Linked DNA regions of Homo sapiens: all the other regions are linked to region 3. The links are contacts of gene promoters, found by promoter capture Hi-C in blood cells and fetal thymus (Javierre and others, 2016). All regions are on one chromosome and are shown on one strand. The core of a region is centred on a gene start or on the middle of the fragment in contact, and the rest is flanking DNA. Distances in the headings are between cores, read along the strand shown. Region 1 overlaps SEC24B-AS1 (SEC24B antisense RNA 1). Region 2 has its middle 9.3 kb from the start of MCUB. Region 3 holds the start of FAM241A (family with sequence similarity 241 member A).

The links. Contacts are between HindIII fragments. The CHiCAGO score rates a contact against its expected background, and 5 or more counts as called.
Region 1: a contact is called between a fragment that was not itself captured here and the fragment with the promoter of FAM241A in region 3, in 3 of 17 cell types (naive CD8 T cells, naive B cells and total B cells). The highest score is 8.4, in naive CD8 T cells.
Region 2: a fragment that was not itself captured here is called in contact with the fragment with the promoter of FAM241A in region 3 in 1 of 17 cell types (M0 macrophages); the score reaches 5.3 in M0 macrophages.

What each region holds. Positions count from the first base shown.
Region 1 is chr4:109,430,822-109,433,521 of GRCh38, reverse strand. SEC24B-AS1 (SEC24B antisense RNA 1) reads left to right here. Exons shown (of 3, transcript NR_039978.1): 2 at 1,776-1,830. Among named protein-coding and RNA genes, the nearest start is that of SEC24B, 1.6 kb to the left of the region's middle. RefSeq lists a silencer at 1-77. The HindIII fragment of the contact is 829 bases long and covers 836-1,664 here.
Region 2 is chr4:109,549,624-109,552,323 of GRCh38, reverse strand. No RefSeq gene overlaps it. Among named protein-coding and RNA genes, the nearest start is that of MCUB, 9.3 kb to the left of the region's middle. The HindIII fragment of the contact is 1,212 bases long and covers 653-1,864 here.
Region 3 is chr4:112,144,177-112,146,876 of GRCh38, reverse strand. FAM241A (family with sequence similarity 241 member A) reads right to left here and starts at 1,423. Exons shown (of 2, transcript NM_152400.3): 1 at 1,144-1,423. The coding sequence starts at 1,296. RefSeq lists an enhancer at 513-652 and a silencer at 993-1,642. The HindIII fragment of the contact is 3,530 bases long and covers 564-2,700 here.

The DNA of each region.
Region 1 (2,700 bases), core at 1-2,500, 2.7 Mb after region 3:
TCCGTGGCCCCAGTGCCGGCCCCGCGGCTGCTGCTCCGGCCCGGCCAGGTGCCTTCGTGTTGAGGCGAAAGGACTGGGCCTCAGTGGGTGAAGGGACCGGGTGGCCCGCTTCCACCTAGGGCAGAGGCTGGATCGGCCGCGGCGAGGCTGGGCCCAGCATTACTGGGAGGGGAACTTGAGAGCCGCGGGTTGATGTTCGGAGCTCAGGCGACGACTGACCACCCACCCTTCCTCGAAGAGGAACAATGGCTTGGGTTTGGTTTTTAATTTTTGATTCCCCCACCTCCCCTTTCTTGATTCCAAAGGAAATATAGCATTCAAGCGCCATGTCTGTTGGGAATATATAATTCCTTGGCAAAGAAAGAGGAAACATTTCTCTGATAAACACAAGAATCTCAGTAAGAATTGCATTATTGAGAACTTTTCCCACTGATAAAGTAGGGAAGAGGAAGGGGAAAATAGGGTAAGGGAATGCTGGAAGACAAACTTTAAACTTTATCTCCTTTTTTTTTTTTTTTTTTGTCGATTGTTGGTGCATCCTGTTGGTGTTCCGAGAAGTTGTGGCTCAGCTTGCTTTGTCTACATTAGTGGAATCTTTAAGTCTTTCTGGTCTGTCTCAGCATACTCACTGGCAGGCCCTAGACTACATTACCCAAGTCATTTTGCCGTCTTGGAATCCTGAGTATGTCATCACTCTGTATTGGAGATGAGATTGCTCAGAAACACTGAATTCAGAATGGGATCTAGCAAGATGGTATTTCTGGAGCAATAAGTCATTTACTGAATGATTATGCAAAGCATAAATTGCATTGTAGTCCTAGAATAATACAAAGCTTCCCTTTAGTTGTTGCCGTAAATTAATAACTGGCATTTTAATGCACTAAATGAATTTTAGTAGTTAGATTTATATCTTTGACTTCTAGGAATTTCAACTACATTAGAGTTCATATACACAAAAGGGGCAAGCCCTTTTCCACAGCATTTCCAGCTTCTCCACAGAAACCTAGCCCCACATGAGCAAAAGATCACACTCTGTGCTTCATCAAAGAGATTACACAATTACAGATTCCAGCATCTCCCAGGAGTCCTTTGAATTTGGATTAAGGTCTATAATTACGTGGGTAAGGGAATAACTAGGTAATTGGCTTTCTGCACCTGGAATGTATTCTCCTGGGTATAAGAGGCTCCTTTTAATCAGAAGTATATGGGATGAAAGTGAACCCTGTCTCTTAAGGGGAGACTCCTTAAGAGGAGGATTGGGGCCCTGTGTTTTAATAGATCTTCTCCACAATCTTTAATACCTAAGCTCCTTCCCCTTGTCCACTAATTTGCTGTAGAATTTTTCTAGCATGTTTATGATGGTGTTCAGGGCACACTACCCCAAAATATAACACCTTGGCATATTGAATGTTTTAAGCTGATGGAATTTGAGAAATGGCAGGTGTGAGGACTCTGACCTTCCCATGAAGCAGGTCATAAGACCCTCATGTGAGAGATGCCCTCTCTATACCTGGAGAAAAGAAGCAGTCTTATTTGTGAAGACAGAGAGACGCCAAGAGGAATCTAAATGAATAGGCCTTGGTAGGTTTCCCCCAGTTTACTGCCCTTAGCCCATCTTTTTGTCTTATCACAGTTTTCCATAACAGTCTACTCTTCATCAAGCTTGGTATAAAACGCTCAGGTTTCTTCAGGTCTTCGTTTCCTTATGAAGGCTCTGGTGCCATGTAAAACTTACATTAAATATCATACATTCATATGCCTTTCTTTTGTTACAGGAACCCCAGACGCACGGGCCTTGTGCTGTCGCTGCCGTGGCACCCCTTCTAGAAGGTAGATATTTTTCCTCCTGACAAACACTACAACCTTTATGAAAATATTTCACTCTTTTGCTTTAATTTCCATTACTACTATAAGTGAAAAAAGGATGAAGAATTGAATGAATAGGATTGAACCATCTACTAGGCACTGTGCTTGTAAATCTAGATATGTATTTTTTTCTATTTAATCCTAACAATAACTCCATGGGATATTTTTCTTATCCCTATTTTATCTGTGAAGAAACTAATGTTTATAGAGCTGAAGTAATCTTAGTAAAAATCATGAACCTGGAATTAGCAGAACCAGCGGTCAAACCAAGGATTATTTAGCTCCAGACCATTGCTTTACTATAAACTATACTGGGTTAATTTACATTTTTCTTCATAAAGCTATGCTAGTTATGATTTACTGTCTTGCTGTCAAAAGATTTTCAGTTTTTCATATTTAGAATTTGTTCCAGTGTACTCTACAATGGTAGATCTCAGAGTTTTTGAAATGCAGATTTGTGGGCCCAAACCCTGGACCGTATACTGATTCAGAAGTGGTGGAGATAGGGCCCTACAGCAAGCTCTCCAGGCAATTCTGATGCATGGGGAAGTTTGAGGACCACTGCTTTTGAATAGCAGAGTTAAGCTGAATTGGTTCATTCTCTTACTTTGGAAGATGATGGTCCTTTCTTTCAGGACATCTCTTCAATCTTTTACAGACCAATAAAAGTGATATTTTGTAGATTTGTGATTACAGTGTCACAAATGCCAATTATGATGTTTCCTATGTCAACTCAGATTCTCTGAGGTATAGTGTTGATGCAGATGCTGAGGCCAAGTCTGTTCAGTGAGAAAGAGTGGGTAATTGAATTAATCTCTGCTGCATATATGGAAG
Region 2 (2,700 bases), core at 9-2,508, 2.6 Mb after region 3:
TAGTAGGTTCTCAAATATCTGCTGAATAAATTTAATAGATCAATAATAAAACAGGACTTTAAAACTACAACCGCCCTTAGGCTGGGCACAGTGGCTCACGCCTATAATCCTAGCACTTTGGGAGACCGAGGTGGGTGGATTGCCTGAGCTCAGGAGTTTGAGACCAGCCTGGGCAACATGGTGAAACCCCATCTATACTAAAATACAAAAAATTAGCCAGGCATGGTGGTGTGCACCTGTAATCCCAGCTACTCGGGAGGCTGAGACAGGAGAATCTCTTGAACCTGGGAGGCAGAGGTTGCAGTGAGCCGAGATCACTCCATTGCACTCCAGCCTGGGTGACAGAGCAAGAATCTGTCTCAAAAAAAACAAACAAACAAAAAAACAAACCCCAAAAAACTACAGCCACTTTTAAAAATAATAGAAACACACAAACTTGTGGTTAGTAGTACATGAGGATTTGCCAGACACTGTTCTAGGCTGATGGTAGAGTGATGAATAAAAACGATGAGTTTCTATATTCACAAACTATGTATTTGTCAAAGGACTAATATCCAGAATCTACAAAGAACTCAAACAAATCAGCAAGAAAAACACAAATAATCCCATCAAAAAGTGGGCAAAGGATGTGAATAGACAATTCTCAAAAGCTTATACAAACAGCCCACAAACATATCAAAAAATGCTCAACATCACTAATTATCAGGGAAATGCAAATTAAAACCACAATGAGATACCAACTTACTCCTGCAAGAATAGCCATAATTAAGAAGTGAAAAAACAATAGATGTTGGTGTAGATGTGGTGAAAAGAAAACACTTTTATACTGCTGGTGCTAATGTAAACTAGTCCAACCACTATGGAAAACAATATGAAGATTCCTTAAAGAATTAAAAGTAGATCTACCATTCAATCCAGCAATCCCAATCCCACTACTGTGTATCTACTCGAAGGAAAAGAATTCATTATATGAAAAAGACACGTGCACACACGTTTACAGAAGCACAATTTGCAACTGCAAAAATATGGAACAAACCTGAATGCCCATCACCCAAGTAAATAAAGAAAATGTGGTGTGTATATATATATACACACACCATGAAATACTACTCAGCCATAAAAAACAAAATAATGTCCTTTGTAGCAACTTAGATGGAGCTGGGGGCCATTATTCTAAGTGAAATAACTCCAGAATGGAAAACCAAATATAGTATGTTCTCGCTTATAAGCAGGGGCTAAGCTATGAGGATGCAAAGATGTAAGAATGATATAATGTACTTTGGGGATTCAGGTGTGGGGAAGGTTGGGTGGGGGTGAGGGATAAAAGACTACATAGTGGGGTCAGGCACGGTGGCTCATGCCTGTAGTCCCAGCACTTTGGGAGGCCGGGGCGGATGGATCGCTTGAGGCCAGGAGTTCAAGACTAGCCTGGCCAAAATGGCAAAACTCCATCTCTACTAAAAATACAAAAATTAGCCGGGCATGGTCGTGTGTGCCTGTAGTCGCAGTTACTCGGGTGGCTGAGGCATGAGAATCGCTTGAATCTGGGAGGCAGAGGTTGCAGTGAGCCAAGATTGGCCACTGCACTCCAGCCTGGGTGACAGAGCAAGACTCCAACTCAAAAAAAAAAAAAAAAAGAAAGAAAGACTACATATTAGGTACAGTGTATACTGCTTGGGTAATGGTGATGGGTGCATCAAAATCACAGAAATCACCACTGAAGGACTTATCCATGTAACCAAAACCACCTGTACCCCACAAAACTATTGAAATAAAAAAAAATTTAAAAAATTGACACTTAAGAACTTTTTTTTTTAAAGATGAGTTCTGTGTTCTTCCTTACACAGAACCTAGTGGGGAAGCTTGTTCACCTAGTGAACAAGTAATTAAGTAGAGTGACATAAAGGTTATAAGAGTAAAACTACAAGGGCTATGTGAACATACAGCAGGGAGACCCCACCTAAGCTAGTGGTAAGGGACAGGCTGGCATCAGTACACACTAATAACTGAAGGAGGAAGAGCAGCTAACCAGATAAAAAAGTAAAGATGAGTTCTTAGCAGGAGGAACAGCATGTTTACAGGCTCAGAGGCTTAAGAGGTCATAACCACTATTGTAATAAAGAGATAGGTCAAAAGCCTGAGAAAGTCTTTTTGGAATAAACCTGATAGCAAAAACAAACAAACAAAAAAAAACCCACAATTGTGACTTACTGGTGAGCATCGAGTTTTGAAGTCTGATGTTATGTACATGTAATGAACTAAGACTACTTGCTTCTTTCTGTATACCCATCTGTACTGGATGGTCTGAAGCAAAAAAGTGTAGTTAATACATCGATCACAGTAAAAGTGGAGGTAGCAGCAGCCCACATGATAATATTTTGGTTTTCCATGTCCAGTGTGGAATAATTGCAGTGAAGGTGGAAAGTGATAGGAGGGCAAAGGGCAGGCTCAATGTGGGAGTATTATTACTATTATTACTGTTGTGCTGTTATTTTGTTAAGACATTGACTGCCATTTATCAAGTATTTACTACAAGTAAGGTGCTGCACAAGAAACTTTACATACTCGTTCCATATAATTCTCACAAAACTCTTACCAAGGAACCATTATTCTCTAGTAGGGATATGAAAGCTCAGAGAAGTTTAGAAACTTACCCCAGGTAACACAGCTAACAGAGGAACTATAATTCAAATTTTGTTC
Region 3 (2,700 bases), core at 174-2,673:
AGTCACTTTCTCTTATATTGTCACAGATGAAAAATTACACTCCACGTGGTGATCAAACCTAACGCTAAGGCATATTTTGTGTGCCACACAGTATTACTCTGTTTCCTAAGTAACCTATTGAAACAATGTAAGGTATACATCTATTAATGCATTTAGTGATGATACTGGAATTTGTGAAACGTGACAGAAAGGACAGATGAAGAAAGATGAGGAGAGACAGGTATTAATTGTCCTAACAGTACAGGCTGTAATAAAGGCCAATAATCATTTGAATTCCTGCTCCTTAATGTGAGTCTAAAGAGCGGCTTACCTCAGGTATTTGGAAAGTCTAAATACTGTATTTGCTGTAGAAAATTCATCCAACATACAATTCAATTTTTAAAATTAAACCTTTTGCCTAATCTTTAAGATATTTGATGTTATAATGCCCATTATCACACTTTATTTAAATGAGATAAACTCAGAGAGTTTAAAAAATTACGCAACTTCTCTTTTCCCTTACTATGGCTGGCCTCTTATAACCGAAAGCAATATTCTTGCCTCTCCACTTTTTAACTGAAGCTTTGATCTCATCTGTATTTATGAAGAACGTGCTCTGGGAGAGTCCCTGTCAAGACATTCATTGTAACACCCGCTCCTACTCATGCTTTCAGCGCTGCCCGTGGACGGAATCCACCCACACCTTCCAGACACGCTAGGTGTGGGCTCGGAAACGCAAGATGGAGGGCGGGAGGGGAGCCGGCGTCTCCTAAACCTGGCGCAGGGCACGGACTCGAAGTTGAAAAAGAAGTGTTTACAAGTGAGGCTTTTAAATAAATCACCGCTATGGAGGGCATTTCCTCCGAGCCCTGGGCGCCAGCCTGAGAATCCTCTGCCGGACGCCAGGGGACGAACCACGCTGACCCCGCCAGACACGCGACCCCGGGGCCGGCGCTGGCGTCTGCACTCGCGCGACCCCGCCGCTCCTCCTGGGAGCGCCGTCTAACCGCTCCCGGCGACGACTTCCCAGAGCGCCGGGGAGCCAGTGCCCACGCGGGGCAGAGCTGCGGCGCGGCCCGCGGGCCGGGCCCCTTCCCTCCAACGCCGGGCGGGGCTCGCGGCCCCCGACCCGGCCGCTTCGCCGCCGCCCCTCCCCGCGCTCACCTGCTCGCTCTCCTTCGGCCGCTGTCCGCGCCGCCGCGGGCTCGCCCCGGGATCCCACCCGGTCCCTGCCGCCTCCCGCTCCGCCAGCGCGTCCCCGTCCTCGTCGCGTTCCCCGCCGTCGCCGCCCCGCAGCAGCTCCCCGGCTGAGCACATCCCGCAGCCAACTCCTACCGCCCCGGACAGCCGCCGGAGGACCACGCCGCGACGCACCAGGCAGCGCCGCCGCCCGAAGGCTGCCCTGGGATCCGCCGCACCCGCCGCTGACAGGAGCCGCCGGAGCGCGCCCCGCCGGCCTGGGCGCCTGAAGTACCAGCCCGGCCCCTCCTGTCACTGGCTCGCCCAACCCCCGGCCGTCGGGGCGGAGCCGTACAGGGGAGGGGCCAAGACAGGGGGCGGGGCCAACGGTGTGTTGGGGGGCGGGGGTGTGTGTGTGAGATTGAGAGAGAGGCCGACAGACTGAGAGAAGAAGGGTGTTGTGTGAAAAACTATGGACATACACTGCATGAGGGAGATTGTACATGAGAGAGGCTGTGTGTATGTATGAGGGATATTGTGTGTGCGTAAGAGACCGTTAGAGAGTGTGAGAGAGACGCTGAGCGTGATTTGTGTGTGTGTGTGAGAGAGATTCTATATAAAAGAAACTGCGTATAAGAGATTGTATGCACTTTGGGAGGCCGAGGCGGGCAGATAGCTTGAGCCCAGGAGTTGGAGACCAGCCTGGGCAACCCCATCTCTACTAAAAATAGAATTAGGCGGGCGTGGTGGCGGCAGTGTGGTCCCAGCTACTCAGGAGGCTGAGGTGGGAGGATCGTCTCAGCGCGGGAAGTCGAGGCTGCAGTGAGCAGAGATCACACCACTGCACTCCAGCGTGGGCGACAGAACCAGACCCCGTTTCAGAGAGAGAGAGAGAGAGAGAGAGGAGGGGGGGGGGAAAGAGAGAGAGAGAGAGAGAGAGAGAGAGATTGAGATTGTATGTGTATGCAAGAGACTGTGAGAGAGAGATTGTATGAGGGAACAACAGAAACTGAGAGAGATCAAGTGTGAAAGAGAAATTACTTGTGTGAGAGAGCCAGTGCATATATTTAAGAGAGAGCGCATTTGTATAAGAGATTAGTGTGTGTGGGTTTGTATGTGAGAGAGAAACACACACATGCACCCAGTTACACTCTCCAGCAGAGTACCCCTGTTCTTGCCTGAGTATCTGCCCGTCCTTTTCAAGGAAGACACATTTCACTGTCCCTCTTGTTCCTTTAGCCTCCTTTCCTAGTGTCTCACTGAAGGTCTGTGTATTTGTCCCTTTCTGTTGAGTGCTTCCTAGTGTGTGTTGTTTGTTGGAGCCTTGGGTCGTTTGATGGTGTATCAAATGATGTATCTTTCTGTAACTGGGTAAGAATATGTCTTTCTCAGTGGGTGGTGAGGGGAATATATCCAATTGATAATTATTTTTTGTACTACTCCATCCATTTTATTCAAGGAAAATGGAAGGGTGTTTAAATAAAATATCACTTTTTTTTCTGTGTATGCCTTATCTGTACATTGGGAAAACGATGGGTTATT